Regions from separate parts of the Homo sapiens genome. Here region 1 is linked to region 2. Evidence: promoter capture Hi-C in 16 types of primary human blood cells and fetal thymus (Javierre and others, 2016). All regions are on one chromosome and are shown on one strand. The core of a region is centred on a gene start or on the middle of the fragment in contact, and the rest is flanking DNA. Distances in the headings are between cores, read along the strand shown. Region 1 has its middle 27 kb from the start of RAB39A. Region 2 holds the start of ELMOD1 (ELMO domain containing 1).

Evidence for each region. Contacts are between HindIII fragments. The CHiCAGO score rates a contact against its expected background, and 5 or more counts as called.
Region 1: a fragment that was not itself captured here is called in contact with the fragment with the promoter of ELMOD1 in region 2 in 1 of 17 cell types (endothelial precursors); the score reaches 5.9 in endothelial precursors.

Annotation. Positions count from the first base shown.
Region 1 is chr11:107,898,746-107,903,442 of GRCh38, forward strand. No RefSeq gene overlaps it. Among named protein-coding and RNA genes, the nearest start is that of RAB39A, 27 kb to the right of the region's middle. The HindIII fragment of the contact is 1,272 bases long and covers 2,461-3,732 here.
Region 2 is chr11:107,588,147-107,592,786 of GRCh38, forward strand. It overlaps ELMOD1 (ELMO domain containing 1), which reads left to right and starts at 3,001. Exons shown (of 12, transcript NM_018712.4): 1 at 3,001-3,263. RefSeq lists silencers at 2,884-2,993, 3,054-3,193 and an enhancer at 3,444-3,503. The HindIII fragment of the contact is 4,180 bases long and covers 1,614-4,640 here.

The DNA.
Region 1 (4,697 bases), core at 1,847-4,346, 310 kb after region 2:
TTTTGCGGGGCCGAGGCAGGAGGATGACTTGAGCCCAGGAGTTCAAAGTTGCAGTGAGCTGTGAATGCGCCACTGCCCTCCAGCCTGAGTGATGGAGCGAGACTTTGACTCTTAAAAGAAAAAATAGTTATTCAATAATCTGAAAGAACTTTATTCTTAGCTTTATTAAGTTATCAAGAAGTAATGGACCAGTCGGGAACAAGGGCTAGAAGTAAAATGTAATTACTTGCTATACCATCTTCCCATAGTCTTTAGTGAAAAGCACTAAAGGCCTGAATTTCTCTAGTATTAATAAAAATGAAAGCACTTTTAAGCATTATAGTCAGCATACTCCTAAGATTAGGGGAAAACACCAAGACAATTATGATCTTTCTAAACTTTGGGGGAGTAGACTCACATAAGTTCTGCAAAATATAATTAGCACTTACCCATTCAGACAAAGAAAGAAATGCACCTCCTTTATTTATTTATTTTTCCTTTATTTTTTATTTATTTATTTTTTTCTGAGATGGAATCTCGCTCCGTCACCCAGGCGGGAGTGCAGTGACATGATCTCGGCTCAGTGTAACCTCCACCTCCCCGGCTCAAGCGATTCTCTTGCCTCAGCTTCCCCAGTAGCTGGGATTACAGGCACCCACCACTATGCCCAGCTAATTTTTTTGTATTTTAATAGAGACAGGGTTTTCACCATGTTGGCCAGGCTGGCTTCGAACTCCTGACCTCAAGTGTTCTGCCAGCCTTGACCTCCCAAACTGCTAGGATTACATGTGTGGGCCACTGTGCCCAACTTTTTTTTTTTTTCAGACGGAGTCTTGCTCTGTTGCCCAGGCTGGAGTGGAGTGGCCCGATCTCGGCTCACTATAACCTCTGTCTCCCAGGTTCAAGTGATTCTCAAGCCTCAGGCTTCCGAGTAGCTGGGATTACAGGCATGCACCATCACACCCAGCTAATTTTGTAGTATTAACAGAGACAGGGTTTTGACATGTTGGCCAGGCTGGTCTCAAACTCCTGACCTCAAGTGATCCATTTACCTTGGCCTCCCAAAGTGTTGGGATTACAGGCATGAGCCACCATGCCCAGCCACCTCCTTTCTTTAAAAACAGACACCACAGAACTCCAAAAGGGGAGAATAATTATGAGAAGGGAAAAGACAGAAATAGAATGCACTGATCTAGGGCTTTAAAAATCAGATACTTTACCTTTTTACACTTGAAAAGGAGAAAGAGGTTGCACAAATTGTAAGTGAGGTAACTGGGATTTGAACCCAAGTACTAAAACCTACCTCTGTCTTCAAATCTCATATTCTTTTTTTCTTATTTTTGTGGGTATATAATAGGTGCATATATTTAATTTCATACCGTTAATCACCCTGTTTTCTGCTTTTCAATTAAGAAGATTAGGCATATTCTTCCAAAACCACAAGTCAAATGTCTGTATGCCTTCCACCAGTCATCATTTGGAGAAGGTGTTTTTCTCAAAAGCAAAATCCTAAGTGAGGGGAAATCTAAGGTACAGGCCACTTACCTTTTCATTCATTCATTCAATCATTAAGTTCTGAGTGCTTACTCTGTGTCAGACACTGTCCCCGTACTACATATATATAGCATGGAAGATGGGGTGGGGAAATGAGCAAATAAATAATACATAGGAAGACTACTGGATAGTTATAAGCGCTAGTGGTAGAAAGGGAGGAGTGGGAAAGCAGAAATTGATAATAATAACCCTGAACTTGAAAACAGAAGCACTAAGTACTAGCTTGGTTTTGCCACACACTAGAGTTTGGTGCTTGGGCAATTCACCTCACTCCCTTAGATCTTAGTTCATCACACATCAAATAAGTCATTTTGAAACATATTGTACTGAGCAGATGTGTTTATATTTGTTCCTTTCCAAAATCCCAGTGAGTAATAGTAAACAAATTAACAACAACAACAACAAAAGAGACTTAAACCCACAAAGACAACAGAAGAAAAGACAACAGTAGACAAGGATGTCAACCACATTTTGGAAGAGACAAGTAATCAAACACATGGCAACTGACAGTGGAAATGAGGAAGCTGAAGCCTCCTGTGGAAAGTCGGAAGCCAAAACAACCCACCAGAGAGAACAAAATGAACTCAGAGCAAACATAGACTAAGCAGGGACTAAAGGAAAACTTCGAAGATAATAATTAATATCATGAAACAAGAAGAGCACAGTGTACAAAGAAAATAATCAGAGAGCAACAACAAAAACAACAAAAAACTGGCTGGGTGTGGTGTTTTACATCTGTAATCCCAGCACTTTGTGAGACCAAAGTGGGAAGATTGCTTGAGCCCAGGAGTTAAAGACCAGCCAGGGCAACATAGAAAGACCCATCTCTAAAACAATAATAATAATAGATCAGCCAGGCATGTTGGCACACACCTGCAGTCCCAGCTACGCTGGGAGGCTGAGGTGGGTGGATCATTTAAGCCCAAAAGCTTGAAGCTGCAGAGAGCTGTGATGGTACCACTGAACTCCTGCCTGGGTGACAGACCCAGACCCTATTAAAAACAAAACAAAACAAAACAAAAAACCACAAACTCTTGGAAATTAAATGATGACAGCAAAAATTAAAAATTCAACTGAAAGATTGGAAGATAAAGTTGAGAAGCTCTATCAAAAAGTAAAACAAGAACACGAAGAGACAGAAAATGGGAGATACAACATAATCATCTACCAAAGTTGCTCTTTTCTTTTTGGAAGGTCTGTGGAGGAGAAAGAGCATTCATCACAGGTTTCCCAGAGAGAAGAGATAAGTCAGTGTACTGCTGACAACATGAGCCAGGGTTAAGGTACCCCTTGGAATTACTGATTTCTAAGATTAATAAAGTAGTTCTGTTTAAAAAAAGAAAATAGGAGATAATAAGAAAATTAGAATATATATATATCCAAAAAATATTACATTCAACTTTTAGGCATTTAGAGACAATAATAAGAAATGGGGCCAGGTGTGGTGGCTCATGCCTGTAATCCCAGCACTTAGGGAGGCCGAGGCCGGTGGATCACCTGAGGTCAGGAGTTTGAGACCAGCCTGACTAACATGGTGAAACCCCGTCTCTACTAAAAATACAAAAATTGGCCGGGCGTAGTAGCGGGCACCTGTAATCCCAGCTACTCAGGAGGCTGAGGCAGAATTGCTTGAACCTAGGAGGCGGAGGTTGCAGTAAGCTAAGATCGCGCCATTGCACTCCAGCCTAGGCGACAGAGCCAGACTCCGTCTCAAAAAAAAAAAAAAAAGAAAAAGGATAAGAAATGGGTCCAGTCACGGTGGCTCACACATGTAATCCCAGCACTTTGGGAGGCTGAGGCAAGAGGATCACTTGAGCCCAGGAGTTCAAGACCAGTCTGGGCAACATGTAGAAACCCCATCTCTACAAAAAAAAAAAAAAAAATTACCCAGGTGTGGTGGTGCACACCTGTGATTCCAGCTACTCAGGAGGCTGAGTTGGAAGGATTGCTTGAGCCCAGGAGATTGAGGCTGCAGTAAGCTATAATCACACCACTGCACTCCAGCCTGGGCAACAGAGTGAGACCCTGTCACAAGAAGAAGAACAAAAAAATAAATAAATAAAAGGAAATTCTCAAAGAAACAACAATACAAAACTTCCCAGAATTTAAAAGTGAGAGTCTCCGTGATAAAAGAGCCCACAATTAAAAAGAAAGGCACACATTGTAAAATTTTGTGAAAATTTTTAAAAGGATCCTAAAAGCTTCCAGAGAGGAAAAAAAGCAAGTAGATCACAAACATGTAAGAATGAGAATGGCAATGAAATTTTCAATCACAACATGGGAATCTAGGAGACAATACAAGGATGTCTTCAAAATTCAGATGAAAACTTATTTTTCAATCATAACACTATAGCCAGGAAAAGTGTTAATATAAGAGTAAAATAAAGACTTTTTTGAGCACAGAAGTTCTCAGAAAATGACTTGCTATGTATCCTTTTGGTGGGAAACTATTGGAGAATGTGGTACACCAAACTGAAAGTTTATTTTTTATTTTTTATATTTTTTTGAGACGGAGTCTCGCTCTGTCGCCCAGGCTGGAGTGCAGTGGCACGATCTCGGCTCACTGCAAGCTCCACCTCCCGGGTTCACACCATTATCCTGCCTCAGCCACCCGAGTAGCTGGGACTACAGGCACCCGCCACCACGCCCGGCTAATTTTTTTGTATTTTTAGTAGAGACGGGGTTTCACCATGTTAGCCAGGATGGTCTCGATCTCCTGACCTCGTGATTTGCCCACCTCGGTCTCCCAAAGTGCTGGGATTACAGGTGTGAGCCACCGCGCCCAGCCTCAAACGGAAAGTTTATTAAGAAAGTAGGAGATATTTTCTTTTTTTCTTTTTTTTCTTTCTTTCTTTTTTTTTTTTTTTGAGATGGAGTCTCTCTCTGTCGCCCAGGCTGGAGTGCAATGGCATGATCTCAGCTCACTGCAGCCTCCGCCTCCCAGGTTCAAGTGATTCTCCTGCCTCAGCCTCTCAAGTAGCTGGGACTACGGGCACATGCCACCATACTCAGCTAATTTTTTTTTTTTAATGTATTTTTAGTACAGATGGGGTTTCACTGTGTTAGCCAGGATTGTCTCAATCTCCTGACCTCGTCATCCACCCGCCTCAGGCTCCTAAAGTGCTGGGATTACAGGCGTGAGCCACCGCTAGGCCAAGAAGGAG
Region 2 (4,640 bases), core at 1,751-4,250:
CTGTTGACTGCATGTTAATCTGTTCAATAGGTATTTTTATCCCAAAATAATGCAGGACCCAGAGGTGGAGAAATCTGTGGATTTGTGGTGGAAGAGAAATTATGAAAAGAAAAACTGAGCCAGATCCTGGTGAAGCAATTCTAGGGTTAGCAAGAAAACCAATTAGAAAAGAACTATAGTCTAAGGAGCCACATAGAGTTGAGAACCTGCTTACATTCATTCATTCCTTTCACACTTTTCCTTGAGTATCTATTACATATTGGTCATCTGCTAAGTTCTGTAATACAAAGATGAATGAGACCCTCCCCTTGAATTACTCACATTAAACAGTGGCGAGATTGTCTCTAATTGCTATGGCATACATGTGTACAAATATGCTTTGAAGAAGTCAGTTCTAAGTGATACCAAGGCTGCCTCACACTTAGACAATAAGAGAATCAGAGAGAAAAGCTTGTCATTCAGACAGTAGGTAGATTCAAACAGAAGATGTATGACAGAGAATAACTATTGACATAAATAGAGGCCAAAGATGGTGAAAAGGTGAGAGGGTGGGAGTGGTGTGCAAGACCCTGGAAGAGACTTTTGGGATGCAGGAGATCTGGGGATCCAGGTTGATTCTGGACATTTTAGAAATGCCATTCCTAAAGGTTAGATAAAGGATATAATTTGTTGTGGAGATTAAACTCTCTAGCCCTCCCCTACCATTTTCCATTCATCACATGGGATTGCAGCTACCTACCTTGAGTGGTTTGAGTTTAGGAAAGTTTTAGCTGAGGGAATCAACTGAAAGGAGTAAAAGTCACTGGTTCAGCAACAAACTGGCAGAGATCCATGTCCATGTCATTTGTTTGGCCTAGAGCCAATATTAATATTTTTATTGATGTTTTTTGGAAGGATGAGTCAAGACTCTATAGCGTAATTTGATGGATAACACAAAGACAAAAATTAACAGAATTACTAGACTTCTGTCCTTAGTGATTATTTACAGTTTAGGTGTTTATTTTCTGTCTTTTTCAACTAGACTGTAAGTTCCATGAGGGCAGGAACTTTGTCTTGTTTGTTCTTATTTTCCTAACATGTAGAATGGCGCCTGCAAATAACAGTTGCTCAGTAAGTAGTTTTACATTGCTTGAACCACAGTGATAGGCTGTGATGAGTACTGTGATAGCAGTATGCACTGGTGCTATGAGAGCACAGCATTCACTCTGTCTTGAGGTTCAGGGTAGGCTTCAGAGAGAAGGTGACATTTGAGCTTGAAGAGTGAGTAGCACTTCATGAAATAGAATGAGAGAGAATGGTATTTCTTTTTTTTTTTTTTTTTTTTTGAGAATGGTATTTCAGAAAGGGTGGAACACCATGAATAAAGCAATGTGTTATTAAAAAAATAGTATGTTTGGGGGATAATAAAAAGTTTATCTTTTGAATTCTGATACTTAAATAGTCAACAGTATGCATGGGAAGTAAATTTCCTTCCATACAGGCATACATTACTTCATGCAATAGTTGTGAAACAAGGACCACAGGGAGATGCAAGCAAATTACGTTTAAAAGACTATGGAGTAAAATTCTTTTGTCAGGTGGATTAATCTATCCCTAATGAATCTCTCCCGAGAAGCTTTTCCCTCCAAAGGTCTATCTTTTTCCAAGACGTTTATTCAGGGAGGTATCCTTCATATCTCCCTGAAAAGAAAGAAAAGTAAATAGTGGCTAATGCTTTTAACAATGATTAAAAAAATCAGAAAGGTCAAGGCTTTAAGGTCATTTAATGTGAAGAGGAAATAAGATAAATGTTCAGCATTTAAGGATTATCACTAACCCAACTTTTCATAAACACAGAATAGTGGAGGTGGAACCTGCAGAGACTTTTATTCAGGGAACATCCACTGCGGGACAGGCAGATGCTTTGGTATCCAGGCTGCTCCGCGCCGCCAGCTGCCCAAGTAATCCTCACAACAGCCCGCAGAGGTAGGTATTAACCACCCTTTGTTTTACAGGTGAGGAAACAGAGGCACAAGACGGTCAGGTAACCGGCTTGGAGTGATGAATGAAACTAAAATAAGCGCCGACCTCGAAGCTCATTTGGTCTTTCCCCAACCCCATGCGGCCTCATTAAAGAGACTTTTTTGATTAGCTATGGAGAAAACGTTCTTCATCAAACATGAAATGCAATCCGGAAGGCACAGGTTTCTCTCTCTCTCTCTCTCTCTCTCTCTCTCTCTCTCTCTCTCTCTCTCTCTCTCTCTCTCTCTCTCTCTCTCTCTCTCTCTCTCTCTCTCTCTCTCTCTCTCTCTCTGTCTGTATGAAGTGGCTTCTGGGGCCCCACGAAGCAATGTTCCCCCAAACAGCCCCGGACGAGGGTGTCTATAATTCATCCTGTTATAATTAACCCCGGGGTTACGGTATTGCTTCTAAAGCCCTTGTTGAAATGCAGATATGGACCTCGCAGGATTGACACGATCTCTCAATTACACCTAATTAAAGAGCTGGCTCTTTGAGAATCTGACCCGACTGGGCCAGGAGTGGGAAAGGCGGGGGCTGCCGGTTGGGGTGAGGGATAGGGTTCTGCAGTCCCGGGAAGGCAGGTGAAGGGTGGGGATCAGGATTGGAAGAGTCACTGGGTGCTCGGTGAGACGAGGGAGGTTGGAGCTGAACTAAAACAAAGTTTGACTTCTGGACAATTATCCAGGGAGAGGGCGGGGAACACACCTTGCCCGGACTGTCTGGGAATCCCATTGACAGGTCATCTCAGGTTCACCATCTTCCTGTCGTGGGCTCCTCCAGGGAGGCCACCCGGGAGCAATTAAACTGGGCCACACCAGCCACCTCCCACAGCAGCGGGGTCCGCAGATTTAACCCTTTCCCCCCAGATTCCGGCACTGGGTGCCGCGCTCTCTCCCCCAGCACCGCGCCCGCGCCCCCGGCTCCCGGACTGGGCATGCTCAGTAGCCGCCCGCTTCGTGCTCCCAGGGAAGCCTCTGCACGCCCTCCCCCGCTGCTCTCGGTCGCCTCCTCGCCGCCAGCCGCCCCGGGTGCATCCCGGCTTGCTCCGCTCCACGCGACCCAGATTCCTGCCCCGCCCCCGCCCCTTCCGCGCCCGCAGCCAGTGCGGCAGCCGCGGCCGCCCCTGTCCAGCCTCGGCGCCCGGGACCGAGCGCGTCGCTCGCCGCCGCGGAGCGCGTAGCCGGAGCGCCTGGGGAAGGCGGAGATGAAGACCACGCCGCCGCGCGCCGGGAGCTGCTGAGCCTACCGCCGCCAGAGTCCAGGTGATTGGCGACCCCAGAGGAGCCTAGGGAGTAGGGGCGAATGCCCTTGGGGAGGAGAGAGGTGCGGCGAGGACGCGAGGCATCACGCAAGCTGCGCTGTGCCTGGGAGGCAGCAGAAATGCTAAGCATCGGGGGCAGAGAGGGAACGGGAATGAAAGTGCACTCTGCCTTGGTGCAGGGGCTCCGGGGTCACCCAGGACAGTGATTTCCCCTTCTATCCTGTCCTCCCAATTAACACCCGAGAGGCTGCAGGTCGGCGCGAGAGGCTGTTTGCATCTCGGCCCGGGCGTAGGTCGCCTAGCGACCTAACGCCGAGGGCTCGGGGAAGGGATCCCAGACAGAGCCAAAATGGAAGGCGGGACAAGGGCGGCCTGGCTGGGGCGAGGGGCTGGTCTGGGTCCCTGGGAACCCCTTGCCTTGTGGGCTTCGGTCTCCAGGGAGGAGCTAGGCAGCCGGGCTGCGGGGCCGCCGGACTGTGGGGTCCTCCGCGCAGCGAGCTGGGAGGAGCGGTCGGCTGGGCTGTTGAGCTGCGCCTCCTCCAACTGCTGGGAAACTCCGCACTTCAATATTGGAGCATCTCTTTCCCGGGCAGGTAGAATTGGACAGCCGAGTGGGGAGTGACAGCTGACAGCTGACGGGGCTGTTAAAAGCAGAGCAGTGGAGTGTGGTGGTGGGGTGAGCTGTTGTGGGTGCTTTTTTTTGTTTTCCAAGTGTGGGTACGGGCTGTTCTGACTCAGTGTTTATGCTCAACCTCTAAGCGGCGAGTTCGGTAACACATCTTATGAATATTTCAGGAACGACCTCACGGGCTCACTTGCTTCAGATCAAGTTTAATGAATATGTTGTCAGCCTTTCTGCTCTGCACAGTGCCCTGAGCTTTCCACATTTCATCCCTTTCCCCCACCACCTAGGAAAATACGCTGCTAACCCCCAGTGGGCCGTAGATTGGTACTATCAATTGAGTCTGTCATTTGGAGAGACCAATTTTGGGCAGGCATCCAGGCATTGTTCTGCATCTCTGCAATGTATACGTTTTGTGCCGGTGGCTTGACAACCGTCCTTAACTGGTGCTGCCAATATGGTGGAAAGCAGGTAGTATGCTTGTATTGGGATAAATGTCTTAATTCATTAACCTATTATGACAACACGTAGTTACAGCAGACTTAGTCATTCCCTCCCCCAGAAGTTTTCTCGGGGGTCAGTTTAGTTGGTATTTTGCCAAAGGCACACTCTTGTATCTACATTGGGAGGTATTTCTCTCATCTTAATCTTTTTCATAGGAAGAAGAAATAAATGTCTTCTCTGTAAGACATCACTGTCAAGAACACTGAAAGAAGAACCCATTAACGTAGGGAACGTTGAGGACTGGAACAGGTT